2 separate regions of the Homo sapiens genome follow, and region 1 is linked to region 2. Evidence: promoter capture Hi-C in human tissues and cell types (Jung and others, 2019). All regions are on one chromosome and are shown on one strand. Each heading gives the region's core, a stretch centred on a gene start or on the middle of the fragment in contact. The rest is flanking DNA. Distances are from core to core; before and after follow the strand shown.

Region 1 (6,362 bases), core at 2,959-5,458, 540 kb before region 2:
GAGATGATAAACTTATCTACCCTCAATAGATAAACTGATCTATTGACAGTAATGCAATAAACCTGAGTCACCAGAGGTCTACTTCTCTGCATTCAGGGAACTGACCAAGCTTGTCAACCTCGCAGGAAGATGACAGACGCTCAAAGCTACAGAAAAATCACAAATAAATGAACCCTGCAAACCAATGGATGGTCAGGATGCCTGACCGCGGTGTAAGGTGCTTTACCTCTCTGACCTTCTCATCTGGAAAAAAGCAATAGGTATCATATGTTGAACACTCACAGTATGTGAGGCACTGAGCAGCTATGGCACACATACAGCTCATCTGATCTTTGTAAAAGTCCTGGGGGTGTGGATATTACCCCTGTGGCAGTCTTAAGGGTGTGCTGCTCACATCTCCCTTCAAAAGAGAACAGGCTATGAGGAGTGCAGGCAGCCGACAATCTCCATCTTTGCAGTCCACCATGGCATTCAACTTGAGGCTACTCTCTCCCCATGTTGCCAGCCTGAACACACCGGGGGTGCCAGTCCGCCCATTTCTGCCCCATGCTAGACTCTTCTAACGAGCAATCGCTGCCTTGCTGAGATTTCCTCAAAACTACGCTGTAGTCTAAGGCTCTTCCTGCTCAATCCTCCTTCCTTTCCCCTCTCATTTCACCAGTCAGACCAGCACCATAGACTGAAAATTTCCCTGCCTACTACTGCTTCCTTGCTCTTTTATCCTTTATTGTCATTTCCCCCAATAAATACCTTGCAAAATTCTGTCTTGGCATCTACATCAAAGAACCCAACATAATACCACCCCCATTTTACAGATGAGAAAACTGAGTGGTTAATACATCTAAAGTCATATAATTAGGATTCAAACCCACATCTCTCTCTGACTCCCAAGTCCAAGTTCTTAACCAGTGGTTTAAAGAACAAAGAAAGTGTGAAGATACAACTGAAAAACAATGCTATAAAAATTCAGATGACTATGCAAAAGGCAAAGTTGTGCCATGAGAAGGACACCATATCAGGAAACTACTCCATTATTTATCATCAGAGTGATGAGCCCTTTAATCTCATTCTCCCTATTTTATGGATGACAAGACTATCACCAAACCTGCTTACCTCACAAGGTAGTTGCAATAATCAAATGAGACTCCTCCTCCAAGAGAAAAGGGAAACAAATACAGTAGGTGAGAAGATTCTGCTAATCGCAAAGCAAGTGGAGGCAAATGGATAATGGCCCTGAATCTGAAGGATTCTACTGAAGGAAGTAGCACTTCTCCCAAATAGACCCCCATATTTGGGGATGGAAAAAACAAAAAGGACAAAGTAAAATATTCCAAACCTCCAAATGGCTTTTCTGCCTCAAGATTATGTGTCTCGTTCATGCCCACACCCCCAGAGCCTATAACAGCACCTGACTGGTATGCATTAGGCACTTAGGAAATCACTGCTGAATGAGAACAATTTCCAGAGACCCTCAACACACACTTTTCTGTCCTTCAAGACACAGGGCCATTCCTCCCACACAGCCTCACATGCAAAGCAGAATACCTGGCAGTTCATGTTGTCCTCTGCTTCAATGAGCTTCCCCCGATATACCTCACCGGTGTTCGTCTCACATGTCACAATGTGGCCCTCGGCCTCATGCAGTACTTTAATCGGCACACCAATAGACATCTTGGCAGGAAGAGAGTTCTACAATGAGAGAGACAACAGTCAGTTCATCTTTCAGAGTCTGAAAAGGCATGTGGCACACATCATGCTTCCTTTAAGGCCTGGCACTCCATAAAACTTAGCAAAAACACCAAAGCTGCATTTTCTACCAAGGAAAAAAAAAAAAGCTCAGCTCCTGGTTTGGAGGAAACTATCTGGCAAATATGTGCAAGATGTGGGGTGAGGAGGAATGATGGGATGGACAGAAGTAAAACTAGGAATGAAAAGAGAGCATCTCCCATGGGTCATGTGTCCCCGCTACCCTATGTCCCTTAATCTTCAGCTAAAGGACCATTAGCCAATACTGTGTGTGTCAGGGGAGGGGGACTGGAATGTTAATTTGTTGCACTGTTATTTGTTAACCCTTAATTGTAGATGATTACGTTTTGAGAATAATACAGGCCCGAGCTGTCCAATACAGCAGCTCATGTACACACGTAGCTATTTAAATTAAACTTAACTAAAACACAATAGAATTAAAATAAAAAAACCCAGTCCCTCAATCCCAGTGGCCATATTCCAAGTCCTCAACGGCCACATGTAGCTAGTGGCTACCCTATGGAAGGTGCAGATACAGACCAAAGGACCATGCACATCTAGGAGAGCAGGCTGTACTTTTAATTCAGCCCTTTAACCCTTCACTTATTTTACTATCAAGGATATTGAGAAAATATCAAAGTGACAACGTGCTATATGCAGGAAATGCTTGTCATGGAGGAAAATCAGGGAAAGCACCTGACTTGACCTAATCAAAAGCATCAAGCAGTGAACTTTTTATTGAGATGAGCAACAACTCTAAGTTTCAACTTAAGCGTACCTAAGACAGGAGAACATGAGGTTGAAAGGACAGGCTCCTTTGGTGAGGATCCCTGGCTTTCAGCCTTAGGAGTCTAGATTTTATGCTGAAGGTAGTGGAGAACCACTGCAGAATTATATGTAAAGAATGACGCAATGAAAAGATAGCAGCATTTATTTACAAAATGGATAGAACGTAAGGTTTAGAAGCAGAGAAACTTGTTAAAACTTCTGCAACAGTTAAAACTGCTGCAACAGTGTGGAAAGCATGAGGGGACCATTGCCTGAAAGGGGACTGGGGCAGAGATACAAAGAACTTTTTAAAAAATGACCGGCTGGGCGCGGTGGCTCACGCCTGTAATCCCAGCACTTTGGAAGGCCGAGGCCGGTGGATCCCTTGAGCCCAGGAGTTCGAGACCAGCCAGGGCAACATGGTGAAACCCCGTCTCTACTTAAAAAAAAAAAAACAAAAAAAAACTCATAGGATTTGGGGGAAGGAGATAGTCAATCAGAAATGACTTCGAGATTACTGCCTGGAAGCTTTGAAAAACACTCACCTGGAGAGATACAGAATGTGAGAAGCATGCACGTTGAGGGGAAAGCTAATGAACTTACTTCCAGGAGCTAGTGAGGCGACGCTGATGTTTGGGTGGCCCAAGCTTCCCGCTTTCTTCCCTCCCCGAGCCCCGCAGAGTTCCATGCAGCAAGTCTTTCTCCAGCCCCTGGCCCCTCACAGGCGCCTCGACCTCCCCTCGCCCGTCCCCAGCCTCACCGGCTCTGGCCTACTTTTCTTCTCTTCGGTCCGCTGCGAAAGATGCTACGGCGAAGGCGTGAGTCAAGCGAATGGCGGGCCTAACACCCAGAATTCCACTCTTTCCCAAAATGCTGCGCGCAGGGCCCGCCTCCTTCCTTTCCCCAGTGTTGAGCGCGGTCTCGCCTCCGCTTCCTCCTCACTCCGCCTGCCGGCTGGGAAACTAGGGCACCAGTACGATAGTTCCGGCACCGGAAAAGAGGGCTGATGACTGGGCCCGGGGGCCGCCGCAACGACCCTTGGGGCCGGCAAAGAGCCAGAGAGGGTGCTCACACTTCCAAGCACCCCACACCAAGGACAGGCTGGACGGCAAGGCGGAGACGCGGGGCTTGGGCCCTCAGACCGGGGACAGCAGGAGGTTGGGCCAAGGGCCAGGACTTCCCGTCACAATTTCATTTGTTGATCCCGGCACCGCCAGGTAAGGGGGGCCCTGAGTGAGGCTAGGTATCTGGTACGGATAAAGTTAGGTATAGAGTAGAGCGGCTGCCCGCTCAGGGTTATCCCTAAAGACAGTTGGAGGAGAGTTGCTTGGGGCCTCGGGGATGCACTGGGCGGGATCAGGGCTTACACCTAGGACTGGCAAAAGAGCGGGACCCGGCAGAGGCGGGGCTTGCCGAAGGGACGAGCCTCTATTCAGGAAATGCACGAGCTTTGGGGCGGGGCTCAAAGAAAGGGGCGGGGCTTCCGGGGCCCGCGTCCTGGTGAGCTGCGCGTCTGCGCGAGGATTGGGCGAGAGGGTGGGGCCACTCAACGCTGAGGCGGCGAATGGCCGGAGCAGACTTAAATCAAGAGGCTGGGGACCTCTAAGATCAAAGTTTGGGGCGGGGCCTAAGGAGGGGGCGGGGCCTCCAGATTCGAGACCTGGAAGGGCTGGGGCGGCGCTTGGGGCGGCCCAGCCGCCGCCTCCCGTTCTCTCCTCCGCAGCGGCGGCGGTGGCGGAGAAGGAACTCGACACGCACCGACCGCCCTCCCGCCCCAGCCGAAGCGGAAGCTGTAGCCCGCTCTGGGCCGGGGCCATGGGCGCCCCGCGCCGCCCGGGTCATGAGGACGGAGGCGGAGGCAGCGGGGCCGCCGCTCGAGCCCGGTCAGTGCCTCTCTGTGGGCCCAGTCTTCACCCTAGGAACGAAAGGGACCCCTCCCTAGCGCGGGGCAGGGTCCAGTCGCGCGACCTTGGGCCGACTCCCGCCTCGCCCCCACACCCGCCTGGTTCCAGTCAGTGGGGGTTTCCTGACACTCGCAGGATTGCGACCCTTGTCAGCATGGTGGGAAGGTCCGGGTAGCAGGGGCACCACCTTCCCCAGAAGCGAAAAGTCCTGCTGGAGCCGCCTTGGGAGCTCCCATGCCTTGGGAAACCGTGGAGGACTGAGGCTGGGAAGGGCAGGAAACTGGCCGAGAGCACCGAGCAATGGAAGGGCCAGTGCCCTGGCCTCCGAGACTCGGCGTTTTGTCTTGCTCTTGTTCTTCACTTTCGTTCTCTCTGCCACGCGGTAGCCTGAGCCCCTTTGGGGCGGAGACCCGGACTGGTATTCAATGTCTTGGCCGTTAGTTTGCTTGCCCAAGACGTAGGGGAGGGGGAAGACGTGATTCCTGTCCTGCTGAAGGCGCGGGGTTGATGACAAACGGAGTTCTAGCTAGTAAACTCTGAAGTGAAGTGCCAACTGTGGAAGAGGTCAACAGCATGTGGGACCCTGACCTTCAGGTGTCACTCCCAGGGAGTGTTCCCTTTTGTGTCTGCTGTGTGGAGTTGGTGGGGGATTTACAACCCTCCTCCTCCAGTTGTCTAGCCCTGTGGTCTGAGACAAGATACTTGCCTTTCCTGAGCCTCAGAGGAGGAATGGCTTACATTCACAGGGAGTGTTCTATGAGGCAGGCGCGCGCTGCGTGCAGTTGTTTACATGCAGTGCCTCATTAATCCTCATAACGAACCAGTGAAGTAGGTGCCCACTGTGATTTGCACTTTTGCAGCTGAGCAGACTGAGTCTGAGATGGGTTAAGTATTAAAGGCTAGTGCACTGCTTGCCTTCCTTAGTGACAGCCACTAACTGAGCTCAGGCCAGGGCCTTCCAGGCAGCCCTTTGGCTCCAGGCAGCAACGTCTGGCTGTGGCTTTGTGTTTAGAAGGCTAAAGCTGTTATGGGGACAGATGCCAAGGCCTCGCCTAACCTTATCACCCCCAACATGAGCACCTCTAGGTCCGATCCGCCCTTGCCGAGGCTGGAGATGGCCCTGTGGGGCCTGCCAGGCCTCAGGATCAAGGAGTTCTAGAGCGCAGGGCAAGAGGAGGAGGCGCAGCTGAGTCTCTGAGAGAGAGCTGCTGTCTTGTGCCACATTTTATAGCTGGACATGGAAAGGCATGGACAGTCATAGCCTGGCAGAAGATAGCCCAGCTAGTCAGTGTCACAGCCCAAGCCACAGAGTAAGGAGGGAGCCTCACACAGAGGGCTGTAGTCTGGAAGCCTGGGGGAGGAGGGGTGCAGAGCAGGGAAGTGACAAGTAGGCCTGGGCATCTCAAGGTATGAGGTCTTTTTGGAAAACGCCTTCCATTCCCCAAGCATATCTAAGTGCCTACTCTGGGCTGAGGGTTGGAAGGAGGCAAATGCAACCTCATCCCCATCTGCCACTGAAGAATTCTCATTGCCTCTTTAAGGACTCCATATTGAGGGGCCCTGAGAGTGAGAGGGATTAGAGCATGGAGACAACATTAACATTTCAGACTAAGGCTCATCAGCTATCATTAGTGATAGTGTAGTTTATGTGTGGCCCAAGACAATTCTTCCAGTGTGGCCCAGGGAAGCCAAAAGATTGGACACTCCTAGACTAAGGGATGTGCAAGAGCAAAAGCTGGGGAGGAAACAGTATGAGTAGAGAAAAACAAAAAGGCAGTGTGTGGCTGCTGTGAGGGGTTCTTGAACAGGCAGGCATTCACCGTGACAGCACAACATCCTGCATAGAGCTCTCCCACTGCTCAGCTCTTTATGAGTCCCTAGGGGTCAGGGCTTGGGTGGGTCTTTAGTTACCTTTGTGTCCCCAGAGCCTAGCAAACAGTGAGG
Region 2 (5,923 bases), core at 263-2,762:
GCACTCCAGCCTGGGCGACAGACCAAGGCTCCGTCACACACACACACACAAAAGCTATTGAATAATCATGAAAAAGAAAAATATCTATTCATTTCTGACTCCCAGCCCAGCAGCTGCATTTCCTCAGATAGCAGCACATTCACCAGGCTTATTAGTCTAAGCTAATAAGTTTCCAAACCCCTTAGAATATAGTTTCCATGGCCTCAGAACACGATAAAGAGTAGCACACCTTCAGACCTCAGCACCCTGATCCAGAGTGATAACTGGGGATGTTTCCTGGCCTGGAAGGTGGGAAGCCTATGTCTTAAGCTCAGTGGTGGCAGTGCCCTGGCTGTGTGACTGACTTGACATAGATGTCAGTCTCTCAGTCTGTTTCCCCTCATGTATGAGGCTTTGTACTAGATGAGGGTTCTGCAAGCTAACCAGCCCACCCTTTTTGTACAGCCCACGAGCAAAGAATGGTTTTTACATTTTTTCATATTTGGGAAAAAAAATCATGACACGTGAAAATTATATTAACAATATATAAAATTAAAACTTCGGTCCCTATAATTAAAATTTTATTGCGACGCAGCTAGTCTGTTATGTATTGTCTTTGGCTGTATCCACACTACATCGCTACAGTTAAGTAGACAGAGTATGGACCCCCCAAGCCTAAACTACTATTATGAATACTATTATACTCATTATACTTACAATATAACAATGTAAACACTGATATATTTACAACAAAAGTTTGCCGACCGCTGAACGAGACTGTTCTAAGCATATTCTATTTCTAACCACAATAATCACATAGAAAGAATCTTAGCCACATGGAATCCGACGGTCCCACACTTATAACCTGTAATAACCCAGGTCCTGAAGAGTTAAGTGACTCCCAAAGCCACTTGTGCAGATACCTTGGGAATGCCAGGTGAGTTCCATCTGGCCAGGGCCCGCCTCTTGCGGGGAGGCAGTGAAGCAGAACGGTCAAAATTTTCAGTCTGGAGTCGCGCTCACCCACTGGGTGACTTGGAGCAAATCATTTCACCTACCCGCGGCCTCAGTTTCCACCCCTGTAAATGGCACCAATAACAACACTCACCTCGCAGGGCTGCTGTGAAGGTGAAGCGAAAGGTCGCGAGTAAAGGGTTAGCGCGCTGGGCTTTGCACCCAGCAGACGCCAAATCAATGGTGGCTCCTGCGGTTACTGGGAACCTCCCCGGAGGCCGGAACCCATTCTAGGCACCTCAGGGCGGCGGCGAGAGCCATGAAGAGGCTCGCGAGGCAGCCAGGAAGCCCGGCCTCGGTTTCCCTGACTGGGGCTCTAAAGCTGCCCGCGAAACCCCCAGCTTCCTCACGTAACCCAGCCTCGCGCCTGCAGCCCCTCCGGCCTGTGCCCCGGGCTCTGCTGAGCCTCACCCCCACCCCGGCACCGCCTTCAAACCAGCCTTCCAGGAACTCACCAGGCGTCTCCACAGCAACGGCCAGTCTGTCCCGACCACCGCGCCGTCCGGCTGCGCGCCTGACAACAAGGCGTGCTCCCATTGGCTCCGGTGCCGGTTGTGCCAGCCAATCAGCGGGGGCGCACGCGCCGCTCGCTCTCCGCGGGCTGCTTAGCTGGGGCCCTGCAGACGGCTACCCTTGGGCGGCGCGCGCGCGCGTGCGCGCGTGTGTGCGCGTGTGTGCGCGCGTGCGCGTGTGCGTGTGCGTGTGTGTGTGTGTGTGTGTGTGTGTGTGTGTGTGTGTGTGTGTGTTGCGGGAGTGGAGCTTGTTGTTTCCGGATCCCCGTCGTCAGTCCTAGCGTGCTGGAGGCTTAGAGCACCAGCTCGTAGTCGGACTCTCTTCTCCACAGCTTGCACCCTGAGCAGTCACTAAATGATGGGCTGTGTGTTATTACCTGGGACATGTGCTCTGAAAACAGTGGAAACTTGGGGAACACTTAGAGCGGGGTGTCCAATCTTTTGGTTTCCCTGGGCCACGTTGGAAGAATTGTTTTGGGCCACACATAAAATACACTAACACTAAGGATAGCTGATAAGTTAATAAATAAATAAATAATAAAAATAAAAATCACCAAAAAATCTCAAAATGTTGTAAGAAAGTTTATGAATTTGTGTTGAGCCGCATTCAAAGCCAAGCAGACCAGCGCGTTGGAGAAACTTGACTTAGAGGGAACCAGGGAGGAGGAGCATCCTCATTCATTATATTACCTGTGCCTCTCTTTCCAAAAAGGATGTGAAGCCCAAAAGGAACAGATACAATAGGATATTGAAACAAAAGGAAAAAAAGGAACAAAACCTAGTAAATGAACAAGAAGAGGGGTCATGGGTGGTGTCAGAATTCCAGAGATGAAAAAAGGCGACAGAGTTGAAGGGGTTCTGTCAAGGGTCTTGGGCTGAAAGATGGTACTCTCTTGGGAGCTAGAATAACAATAAAGCATTGTAGGGAAGAACTTTACACTGTGGTTGAATTCATAGCTGCTTGAGTCTTGCACAGATGATTCAAATAGGAGTGAATGTTGGGGGCTTTTTAACCTCAAAGACAGTAACAGCATGGTGAAAAACTCAGTTCAGTACAATAAAGCTATACTGATAAGCTAGAAGTTCTGAAAATTGTTGAGTCACCAACCTTGACTTTGAGTATTGGGGTAAACAGTATTTGGGGGGTAAACAGAAGCATAAACAGATGGTTTCAAAGCTGCATGGATAACCTTCAGCCTCGGATACAGCTTCCACTCAAGCCTTATCATGAAAGATGCGCTGGAGAGAAACAGTTGAAAATAGGTGGGAAGGGTGGTCCAAGCAGCAAGAAAGTTGTGTGGGGAAGGTCCGGAGGTGAGAAACATGCAGATCATGCTGGAGTGTCATGCAGCACAGTGTTACCGTGAGGCAAAGCTCAGGGCCACAGTGGGGAGAGAGCACTCTGGAGAGTTAGGAAGAGGCCAGTCCAAACAAGCAAGCAGAAAACATATTGTTGCAGTCTTGCCCGTGCACCACAATGTACCAGTCTCTCATTGTGGGGTATCACCCAGAATTCTTTGTCTCACGACCAAGAAAATTAGGGAGTGTGGACACAAAGGGTAAGGTTGAAGCAAAAGTTTAATAAGCAAATGAAGAAAGCTCATTGCAGCTGGCGGGGGGCCCAAGCAGGTTGCCCATTATGAGGCTGGGTCAGGGGGTTTTATGGACTGGGAAAGGAAGGAATGTACTGACTGGTCTTGGAGAAAGCACTACTCAGCTTGGCCCCTGGACCTTGAGGGACCAATCAGGAGCTGAAGTGATAGCCTGGCCCAGGACCAATCAGAGGCTCACATTCTAAAGCACGTCCAAGAAAGGAAAGTGCCCACTGGAACCCACTGTAGCCCACCGTGTACATGTCCACAAAAGGAGAAGAGACTATTTCCTGGAAGCCCACTGGTTATACAAAGGACAAAGGCATTTCTATGCTGGGTCTTGTTCCCTTATCAAAGTAGCTGTGGGCATGCCTTAGGCACAAAGATCAAAGGTGTTTCTGTGTTGGGCATTGTTCCTTTATCTGAGTGAGCCAGAGGTTTGTGCAAGTTTCCTTATCTGTGCCTGAAGCCTGATTTTTCAGGCTGTTCCTCTGTTTAAAGGAGTTTTACCAAGGACCCACCTTAATTACCTAACTTTTCTCTCTCAATATCACTCTCACTACACTGAGGATGGCAGATTTAACATGGGGAATCTATATCAAAGACTGTGGCCTTATGGTCTTGGTGAGAGTTAGGCCTGAATCCCATCCATGGTGACCGCAACGATTCATTCATATCCAATGCAAGCATTCCCTGAGGCACTCTGGGAAGCAGGACACCATGAAACACACTGGCAGAGGAATGAGTGCAAAATACTTGGGTCAGGGGTCCAGGGGAAGGAACTCCAAGGTCTAGCTATCAATGAAAGTCCTTAGCAGTGGTTAGGTACAAACACACCAGGCACAGGCATATTCCATTAGAAATTGATTTTATTAACTACATAGACTGCACAGACTGAAAATCTGAATTTGGTGTTTCACTGGTACGCTAAAGATAAGGATCATCAAAGGTTTATGCAGGGAAACAGTGACCACCACGGTGTCCAAGGGTCATTAGAGGAAAATTCTGCATGGAACATGTGGAAAGCTACAGAAATGGAGACTCCCTATAGGCTCCCCCACACCACCCCTACATACTTTGACATTCAACAGACTGATAGGATATTTAGATAAGAGGGTGGGGACCTCATTCATTCAGTTTCAATGCAGTTTCGGCGCTGACATTGCATTTCCAGGTTTGGCATTCTGGGACATGGGTTTTACAAGGTGCCTAGCTACAGAGAATTATCAGCAAGAGTTAACAGAGAAGATGAAGTTCTCTGCCCAGGAATGCCCAGAGAAAGTCCCTGAAGACAAATCTGCCCTGTGCTCTGGCCCACTACAGCAGACTATGGAGAGGAAACAGCTCAGAACTAGTGGAGAAGGGCTGAGCAACTCCTGGAGGTCCAGAATTCTGGGGAGGGCAGGTGAGAGGAGCAGCAATGGGGCTTGAGCTCTTCCTGGACCTGACACACTATCCACTTTTGCAAGACAGAATGACATCCCTTTTGAGCTGTGGATGGTGGAGTTGGCTTGGGGTGAGCCAGGTGGCTGGGCTGGGCCCCATGGAGTGGGTGCCAAGGACCAGGCCCTACACTGAGCCTTCTCTCCTTTCTGCCCACCAAGGGAGCACCTGAAGCCTGAGTTCCTGAAGGTGAACCCCCTGGGGAAGGTGCCTGCCCTCAGAGATGGCGACTTCCTACTAGCAAAGAGGTAATGGTGACCTGGTGCCCACCCAGGGTCAGAGCCAGGATCTGCCTGGGTTCTGGGGCTCAGAGTTGTAGGGGGAGGCAGAGGCGAGAGGGGAGATCTTTCCTTGGCTTGGAGATCTTTCCAAATCACTGAGGCCCCTTCCTCATTTCAGCCTGTGTAGCTCCGATGCAGAGGCTGGACCCAGGGGCACCTTTGGGCTAAAGCTGGAGGCTGGAACCTGGCTAGAGTCTGAGCCAGCTGGAGCTGCCCAGGTGGGGAAAGGACGTAGGTCACCCGGATAAACCTGGACAACCTGAAGCCAGCGGGCAAGGCCCAGGCTTGAGGCTGGCTCCTCCCCAAATGTCCCCAGCTCATCCTTTCAGAGTCCTAGGAGCTGGGCAGACCCAGGGGAGACTCCACATTCAATCCCAGCTCACCACTTCCTCAATCCATGCCCTTGGGGAAATCACAGAACTTTGTGTGCCAGGTTTCTCCTCTGTAAAACGGAGTGGGAGGAATAATGTATCCACCTCCCAGGGCTTACCTGAGGATAGAAAATGGGCACCTAGTGTTCTGGGGCACTAGGAAGGGAACTTGGAGACCTTTTGGGCAGGGCCCACACGGCAGGCACTCTGAGTGGGGACCCTGATGCCAGGGAGTGGGGCCTGGGCACAGAGGGCAGGATGGTATGGTAACTGGGAGGGGAGGTGGAAACATGGGCCCAGGGAGGATCAGAGTTGGAAATGGAGAAACAGAGTGGTTTGGTCGTGGGGAGATACTGCCTGGAGGGAGTTGCAGTATAGGGGAGGTCCTCCCCTGAAGGTGAAGGTGGGGAGAAAACCTGGTCAAATCACCCTGAGTATGAGCAATGAAGCCACCTGGCCCTGACAGGCTGGAGAAAAGATCTCTGACACCCCCTGCCCACAGCATGGTCATCGTTTTATACCTGAGTCGAAAGTACCAGATACGGGGACACTGGTACCCACCTGAGCTGCAAGCCCGCACCTGCGTGGATGAGTACTTGGCGTGGAAGCATGTCACCATCCAGCTGCCTGCCACCAATGTCTACCTGTGCAAGGTGAGCTTCCTAGGCCCTGTCATGCAGGCTGGGGCAGGGGCCTGGACCCCCAGAGATGGAAGGCACCAGTTGGTACAT

The links. The method cuts DNA at HindIII sites, captures the fragments that hold promoters and counts their contacts. A contact is called where the count stands out against the background at its distance.
Region 1: the fragment with the promoter of GUCD1 here is called in contact with the fragment with the promoter of CABIN1 in region 2 in 1 of the 25 tissues and cell types used here (dorsolateral prefrontal cortex).

Annotation. Positions count from the first base shown.
Region 1 is chr22:24,552,984-24,559,345 of GRCh38, reverse strand. It overlaps GUCD1 (guanylyl cyclase domain containing 1), which reads left to right and starts at 4,208. Exons shown (of 6, transcript NM_001284254.2): 1 at 4,208-4,397. The coding sequence starts at 4,355. SNRPD3 (small nuclear ribonucleoprotein D3 polypeptide) reads right to left here and starts at 3,347. Exons shown (of 4, transcript NM_004175.5): 1 at 3,275-3,347; 2 at 1,546-1,689. The coding sequence starts at 1,671. RefSeq lists an enhancer at 3,540-3,639 and a silencer at 4,100-4,459. The HindIII fragment of the contact is 7,481 bases long and covers 1,577-6,362 here.
Region 2 is chr22:24,006,893-24,012,815 of GRCh38, reverse strand. CABIN1 (calcineurin binding protein 1) reads right to left here and starts at 1,512. Exons shown (of 37, transcript NM_012295.4): 1 at 1,449-1,512. LOC105372959 (a long non-coding RNA gene) reads right to left here. Exons shown (of 2, transcript XR_001755457.1): 2 at 3,949-5,923. The HindIII fragment of the contact is 7,958 bases long and covers 1-5,923 here.